Regions from separate parts of the Homo sapiens genome. Here all the other regions are linked to region 1. The links are contacts of gene promoters, found by promoter capture Hi-C in blood cells and fetal thymus (Javierre and others, 2016). All regions are on one chromosome and are shown on one strand. The core of a region is centred on a gene start or on the middle of the fragment in contact, and the rest is flanking DNA. Distances in the headings are between cores, read along the strand shown. Region 1 holds the start of SLC12A6 (solute carrier family 12 member 6). Region 2 overlaps AQR (aquarius intron-binding spliceosomal factor). Region 3 overlaps AQR (aquarius intron-binding spliceosomal factor).

Region 1 (2,643 bases), core at 41-2,540:
ACATCTCACTCATAGGCTCACTCCGGCTTGTTTCAGGCACGCTTTCCCGGGAGCTAAATCTTACTCGGGAACTAGATCGAGAGCTGAGGTCCGGACTGGTGTCTGACAAACCTGGAATGTCATCGATCTTTGTCGGTGTCACCATGAACCGAACTGAAGCCATCTTGGTGGTGGTTTCTGGAGGATGCATTTTGTTCTTTTTAAGAACAAAAAAAGTGGGGGGAACCTCGCAAAATCTTCCTCTTACGCTAGCTACTTTTGACTGCAATACAAAAGATAACTTGAAAAATAACACATTTCAATAACCTTGATTCACACCACACAAAAAGCCCCAACTAAGAATACTTCTACTCAGAATTCAAGCCGACTGTCCTAGAAAGTGCATCACCAATAGGTGAATATATTTTTTAAGAGAGAAAAAAACAAAAAACAAAAAGACAAAACAATGCCAATCTTGTGTGACTTCTTTCCTTCAGAATGAAGAGCTACCTAGCTAACCCCTCTGGTCCGGGGCTGAAGGCTCAGTGCCATGGTCTCAGGGCAGCAGATGAAGCCTCCCTCCCCTCAGCCCCCAGTTTCCTGTCGAGGTAGTCCTTTATCTGGTGAGTGTCCCACGGTTCTAGTTGGGCGAAGTGCGTGCAGGCAAACCTTTATCAGGCGACTATAGCGTGGATCAGATTGCTAAAAGGTGTACACCCGGCCACCTGTTGTGTATCAGGTGAATACCCCACAGGTCTGGCTGGGGGGAGGTGTATGCAAAGCCACCCGGTGTTTTTGATGTCGACAATCCACTTGGGTCTGGTGGGAAAGGTGCACATGCATAACGGGAAAAATAACCCACACTACTGAGAGAAGGGTGAGCAGAGGAGGATGCAGGGGCAGAGCGGATTCCTGTCTCCGAGAGGTCGGTGGGGGTGGCGCGCCCGCTCTTCTCCTAGCAGAAAGGTCCTCGGGGTCTGGGAGGAGGTTAGCGGATCAAGACACCTCGGACTGCAGCTCAGAGTCGTGGCAAGTCGTAGCTAGTCCACTGAGCCACGGTCCGCTCGCTAGGTTTCTCCTGCGTGTGACAGGACGAGCCACCCCCTTTGCCGGAGGCGCGTTCTCCCCTACCCCCGCCCCGGCGCAGGTCACCCCCTCGTCGTTCTTCCTCAGGGTCCCAGTAGAGGAGGAGACGGCCACGCAGGCTGGCCTGACTGGGCAGCAGGGTGAGGGAGAAGGAGGTCGCAGGTGCAGTATCCCGGCGCCAGCTGATGCGGGTGCGCGCGCAGCTGTTGTTTACTAGCCGGTAACTGTTTCAGAGCCGCGGCGCGCGCAGGGTTCGCGCTGCCGGGGCTGGCGCCCCCTCCCCGGCCCGACGCCAGAGCAGCAGTTACGTGACCTGGCCTCCCCCAGCCCCGGGCCCGACGGGGTGCGCCCGCGCCGCCGCAGCCCTTCCCTTCCCTCCCCGCTTGTTCCTCATTCGAGGTGAACCTTGCGAAGAGAAGCCCGGGGGTGCAGTGAGAGGGCGGAACCGTCCCGCGGGCGCCCGAAAGCCCCGCCCAGCCGCCGCAGCCCGCGGTGACCGAGTGCAGCGCGCCTGCGCTCGCCGCGGGACACGGCAGGCGGGGCGGGGCCGAATACGAGTGGCCAGGGGCACGACGGGAGCTGTAGTCCAGGGCACGGCCCGACCCGCGTGAAGAGGGGAATAATCCTTTTCCTCGGTCCGGCTGTGCTGCACACTCACTCTGGAAGCATCCTAGAGGGCGGGCGCTGCTCCTCACCCTCAGAACCCGGGGAGCCATTTCTCTTTCATGAGTGTCTCTGAAAACATCATTCATGATTTCTTTAACCAGAAACACCGCTCCTATACCTGGGAATAACCCTCATTGTAATTTTTATGTAGAGGTCTACATACAAATAAACCACTTTTATGTAAAAAAAAAAAATTAAAACTATAAAGTAGGCCTGGCGCGGTGGTTCACGACTGTAATCCTAGCACTTTGGGAGGCTGAGGCGGGCGTGATCGATCACCTGAGCTCAGGAGTTCCAGACCAGCCTGGCCAGCATAGCGAAACCCCGTCTCTACCAAAAATTCAAAAATTAGCCGGGCGTGGTGGCGTGTGCCTGTAATCCCAGCTATTCCTTAGACTGAGGCAGGAGAATCGCTTGAGCTTGGGAGGCGGAGGTTGCAGTGAGCCGAGAACGCACCATTGCATTCCAGCCTGGGGGGACAAGAGCAAAACTCCGTCTCAAAGAAATAAATAAATAAAAATAAAACTATAAAGTACCTTAAACACATTTGTCCTACTTTAATTTTTTGTTGTTGTTCTTGTCCTTTTAATAAATGCTATGTCCACTTTCTAGTCAGACTGAAAGTTCCACTAAATAATACGTTTTTTTATACCTGGAGAAGACGTTGATGTATTTTCTCAAATCCATTCCATGTTTTCACCACTACATTTGTCGCTAGAATATTTTTTCTTAGTGTTTATTTAATGTATAAATGGTGGTGTTCGATAAATTCTGACTCACCAATGTTTTGTTTGAAAAGCTATTTCCTATAGCTGTGATCAAGACCTCTAAATTTAACAATCACCTGGGCCCAGAAACTGGCCCCCGGTTTTGCCTGGGGTCTTGGCTCCTCACAAGTGGTTATGTTTAAGC
Region 2 (2,643 bases), core at 45-2,544, 610 kb after region 1:
TGAAGAAAATAAGTTTATAAACATACCAGCATTTCTACCTAAGTCTTTACATAAGAAGTATACTGCCTTTTTAAGTCCTGGAGGGAAAACATGCCACAAATATTTTCAAGTTAATATTTTGATATTAAGAAGTTCAATGCTTTAAAAAAGACTCCATCCTTATTATCTACAGATTTTGTACTTGCAAATTCATATACTAATAAAAATGTATTTGTAACCCCAAAATCAACACTCCATGTGCTTTCACAGTCATCCAGATGGCCCAAACAAAAATCTGAGTTGTCCGACGTGCACATTCTCAGGTGAGACTGAGCTGATGCTCTGCTTCATTCTCAGCTCTCATACTGTAAGAAACAAGTATCCTTTTTGTGGTCTATTGAGTACTATTTTTTTTGGCACGCTTGTGCTTTTTGATGATTTCGCTGTTTAAAATGGCAACAAGCCCAAGGCTGAAGTGCTGTCTGATGTTCATGGGTGCAAGAAGGCTGTGATATGTCTTACAGAGTAAATACGTATGTTAGATAAGCTTCGTTCAGGCATAATTACAGTGCTGTTGGCAGTGAGTTCATGGTTAATGAATCAATAATATACAATAAATAAGCTGTCTTTAAATAGAAACACACATAAAATAAGGCTATGTATTGATAGTTTGTAAAATGTCATGACCAAGGCTTGCAGGAACCTAACCCTGTATTTCCCCAAGGAGTAATGGTTCAGCATTAGCTCATTCAATGTTCATAGCTACTTTATAAAATGAACATAACTACCTCAAATAAGAACTGACTGCATATTTTAAAAGATAAAGCATTTCAATAATAAACTAGTTTGGTAAGTTGGCTAAAACTATCACCAAATTACTAATACTAATAAAATCTTGTTTCTGTTTAGTTTCTGATAAAAAAATCACATCTATTTATATTTCTATTTGTTCTGTTTAGTTTAATAAATGTTAAAGAGGCTTTCTGTGCCGATAACGCTCACGCAAGCATGGTTAACGTCCCTAAAACCCGCCGGACTTTCTGTAAGAAGTGTGGCAAGCACCAACCCCATAAAGTGACACAGTACAAGAAGGGCAAGGATTCTCTGTATGCCCAGGGAAAGCGGCGTTATGACAGGAAGCAGAGTGGCTATGGTGGGCAAACTAAGCCAATTTTCTGGAAAAAGGCTAAAACTACAAAGATTGTGCTAAGGCTTGAGTGCATTGAGCCCAACTGCAGATCTAAGAGAATGCTGGCTATTAAAAGATGCAAGCATTTTGAACTGGGAGGAGATAAGAAGAGAAAGGGCCAAGTGATTCAGTTCTAAGTGTCATCTTTTATTATGAAGACAATAAAATCTTGAGTTTATGTTCAAAATAAATAAATAAATAAATAAATAAATAAATAAATAAAAATAAATGTTAAAGAGATAACAGTGGTATCCAGTGCAGGCATCATAAATCTTTTTTTATGCCTTTAAAAGATCCATGTGAGATAGTACATGGAAACAGGTAATAATCATCCATCTATTAACACTCAGTCTTCAGAATAAGAAAGAACTCCATGCATTCCTCCTGCATGGGTGTAAGTGAATTATCAATTCAGAGGCACTAAATAAATATGTGTATTTATCAGCTAACCACACAGGAAAGCTCAAATAAAATATTACTGAAAATATTTAATTTTTTAGAAGATAATCTTATGAAGGATGAAAATGTATCACACACAAGACATTTTCAAAGATCATTTACACTTGGCCTTTATCAGTCAACTCAAAATACAACTCTCCTGTTGACTAACCAGCCTATGCATAAGGCATGATGAAAAGCAATGAAACTACATTCCTGTATGTATATGCAGTTTGTGGCACAGATCTCATTACTCCAATTCCATATAACCAGTCTCCTTGCTGCTTCTCATTTTTGTGCTCTCCCTTTAGAGTTTCAGTTCTTATAATCATTTTTCTTAAGAGTCTAGATAGAAAAAATTAAGTATCAATTTCAAATCTATTAAAAAGTGAACATATCTTATAAAAACATATCTTAAAGACTTATAAAATGGTTTTACTGATAAGTGGCTGAAATCAAGCTTTTAGCATTATCCTTATTGCCTGCTATTATGGATGAATGGAGTTGGCTACAGAGGTAATTTCATCTAAACTCAACCTAAAAGAACAAGAAAACTTGAAAATTACCCCAAAATATAAAGTAAAAGTACCAAACTATTGAAGCAATGATCAAGAAAAAGTAGTAAGACTGTCTGTTCATGAAGTGAAAATTCACCATCAGTTTCAGCTAATGCCGCCTTCAAGATGTGTTTAAAAAAGAATGGGAAGTGGTCTGGCTTCTTCTTAAAAATCTGAAAAGAAACAGAATAAAATTCATTTTGTATTGGCTTGCTCACTTAAGCTTTAAAGAAGCCCTAGTAGGCTTTTTAGCAGTCTATTAAAAAAACCAAATAATTACAAAAGGGTTATTTGTATATGTATAAAAGAAGCATCACGTGCTTACTTATAATTAATGGCAAGTCAAATACAGGTTTCTGACAGGACTATGAGAGAGCTGCAGAACCCTTTAGCTAATAAAATAATGGCTTTCATTTCTTTAGTTTTTCCTCTGTGGATTATGCCTGTATTTAGCTTAGGCTTTGTTTTCTTATTAAGGAT
Region 3 (2,643 bases), core at 103-2,602, 580 kb after region 1:
CCCTTAGTGCTAAAGCATTCAAAATACTAAATCTTTTCTAGCTTCTAAAGTTAACTTCTGGGCACCAGGAAATTATCCTAATGTACAGAGTAGACTCAAGTACACTGCCTATAATTGCCAATTATATATGATAAATCTGAAATTGTTTCATTGTACAGCTGAATCCATACTTCTTTACCATACCTTCTCCAGAATAGTACTCAGTTGGGACAATATTTTCATCCCATATAATTTTCTCAGTTGGATACAAAGGCATCTGGTTCAACTGCTGAATCTGAGAAATTCGACGTTCATGACGAGATACCTAAAATAAAGGAAACAAGTTCATGCAGAAGGTTAGAAGCATCTTTTTTCAATCAAAATAATTTATGGAAGAAGTTTCATGCCTATCAGTTATTGTAGCAGTTCAACAAGCGATTTTTTTTTCTTTTCCTATTTTCTCCATAGATCAAAGATGAGAAACAAACCAATGGTAATGGTCTTTGGAATCAGACAGACCTGAGTTCAAATCCCAGCTCCTCTACTTATGAGTACTGTAAAAGCTGGGCACGTTACTTTAACCTTCCTAACCTTAGTTTCCTTTTCACTAAAACAGATAAAGTGCCACACATCTCAAGTTTCCAATGAAATATGAAATAGTGTCAAAGTCCCTGGCACATGCCAAGGGTTTAAAAACCATGACACTTAGCATTAATCAATGTAGGAAAAAATAGGAGCTCTAGGTTTTGGACTATAGTTTTCATTCTTATACTAACTAGCTATACCATCTGGGAAAGTTTATTAATCTATCACCCTAGTCTTCTCACTCTATGTTCCTTTCCATGATGACCTCTGTGTACCCTTAATATTAATAATCTATCTCAAATATGAAAATAAGTGTTACACCGGGTGCAGTGGCTCATGCCTTTAATCCCAGCACTTTGGGAGGCTGAAGCAGGTGGATCACCTGAGGTGAGGAGTTCAAGACTAGCCTGACCAACATGGTGAAACCCCATCTCTACTAAAAATACAAAAATTAGCTGGGCGTGGTGGTGCACACCTGTAATCCCAGCTACTCAGGAGGCTGAGGCAAGAGAATTGCTTGAACCCGGGAGGCGGAAGTTGCAGTGAACCGAGATTGCACCATTGCACTCCAGCCTGGGGGACAGAGTGAGACTCCATCTCAAAAAAAAAAAAAAAAGAAAGAAAAAGAAAAATAAGTGTTTATCTAATAATGCTAAAATGACATATTCTTAAAATGTATCACATTCTCTTCAGTGAAGATAGTATAATTATAGAAAAAATCATGATATCTAAACAATATGTATGTTTTAACTTTTTGATCATAAATTGAATAGTAGAAGAATCCAAAGCCTGGGGAAATCCTTTAGGGAAGGGAGGAAACAAAACATAATGTTGTAGCACTATACATTTTAAAAATTATTTTCTTTTGTTGGAACTATTTAAATTTTAGGAATAAAATTCTAGCCACAAGACCTTAATAGGCACAGGATCAACGTTATCCTCAAACTTATTTTCCATTAGAAGAATTCCTGAAAACAGGTTGGGCACGGTGATTCATGCCTGTAACCCAACACTTTGGGAGGCTGAGGTGGGTCAATCACTTGAGGCCAGGAGTTCAAGACCAGCCTGGCCAACGTGGCGAAACTCTATCTTCTACTCAAAATACAAAAATTAGCTGGGAGTGGTGGCACACATCTGTAATACCAGCTACTCGGGAAGATGAGGCACGAGAATCACTTGAACCTGGGAGGCAGAGGTTGCAGTGAGCTGAGATCACGCCACTGCACTCCAGCCTGGGCGACAGAGAGAGACTCGGTATCAAAAAAACAAAACAAACAAACAAACAAAAAAACAAAAAAAGAAGAAGAATTCCTGAAAAAAATCCTCATTTCTTTCTATTGCAAAGAGTTATTATTAATTCCAAAAACCTTACTCATGAGAGGTTTTACATTGTCAGAAAATAGCACAGGAATTTTTAGGAACTGAAAGAGACAATGAAAGTGATTTGCATATAAATAGTTGCTAATAGAATGATTCATCCAGAAAGTAGTTCGAAGAGATAAAATACTTGAGTAAAGAAATTCGAAAGATGAGAAAACAAAAAATCAAATGATAATACAATTCCAAAAACAAAATGGGAATTATCTGCCTAATCTTTGGCCCACAAAAAAATCTATATGAACCTACATCTTTAAGAATGACTTTAAAAGGCAAGGAAAACCACATGCAAAATTCAGAGAACATTAATATTTACCAGCAATTCTAGAAGAAATTCTTTATCAAAAGTTGTGTCTTCATTTTTAGGAAGAGTTGGCAACAAGCAGAGGTATGATGCCACCTGGTGGAGTGTGTTTGAACTGCAGAATAGAGAACAATATTTTATTCATAGTAACTTACTTCACTTCACTTTTGAAACATGTATTTTTACAAATAGCTTAAAAAAGCAAATATAATACTATGACATGGGCAGCAAATATCAAAAACCAGCAATGAAAATTAAGGCTTTAGTGCAGGGTTCTCAAAATATTTTCTGCAAACCTCTCATTGTACCCAAGATCCTTCTGGGCAGTCCCCAAGAACACTTTTAAATATTAATACCGGCAGGGCAAGGTGGCTCAGGCCTGTAATCTCAGCACTTTG

Evidence for each region. Contacts are between HindIII fragments. The CHiCAGO score rates a contact against its expected background, and 5 or more counts as called.
Region 2: a contact is called between a fragment that was not itself captured here and the fragment with the promoter of SLC12A6 in region 1, in 5 of 17 cell types (total CD4 T cells, total CD8 T cells, naive CD8 T cells and 2 more). The highest score is 7.7, in total CD4 T cells.
Region 3: a fragment that was not itself captured here is called in contact with the fragment with the promoter of SLC12A6 in region 1 in 1 of 17 cell types (naive CD8 T cells); the score reaches 5.9 in naive CD8 T cells.

What each region holds. Positions count from the first base shown.
Region 1 is chr15:34,336,491-34,339,133 of GRCh38, forward strand. It overlaps SLC12A6 (solute carrier family 12 member 6), which reads right to left and starts at 1,291. Exons shown (of 26, transcript NM_001365088.1): 1 at 842-1,291; 2 at 1-262. The coding sequence starts at 190. RefSeq lists a silencer at 1,146-1,705. The HindIII fragment of the contact is 4,998 bases long and covers 1-2,643 here.
Region 2 is chr15:34,942,093-34,944,735 of GRCh38, forward strand. AQR (aquarius intron-binding spliceosomal factor) reads right to left here. Exons shown (of 35, transcript NM_014691.3): 6 at 2,196-2,336. It also overlaps the pseudogene RPL36AP8. Among named protein-coding and RNA genes, the nearest start is that of AQR, 26 kb to the right of the region's middle. The HindIII fragment of the contact is 1,540 bases long and covers 525-2,064 here.
Region 3 is chr15:34,918,075-34,920,717 of GRCh38, forward strand. It overlaps AQR (aquarius intron-binding spliceosomal factor), which reads right to left. Exons shown (of 35, transcript NM_014691.3): 14 at 2,258-2,360; 15 at 184-304. Among named protein-coding and RNA genes, the nearest start is that of AQR, 50 kb to the right of the region's middle. The HindIII fragment of the contact is 9,536 bases long and covers 1-2,643 here.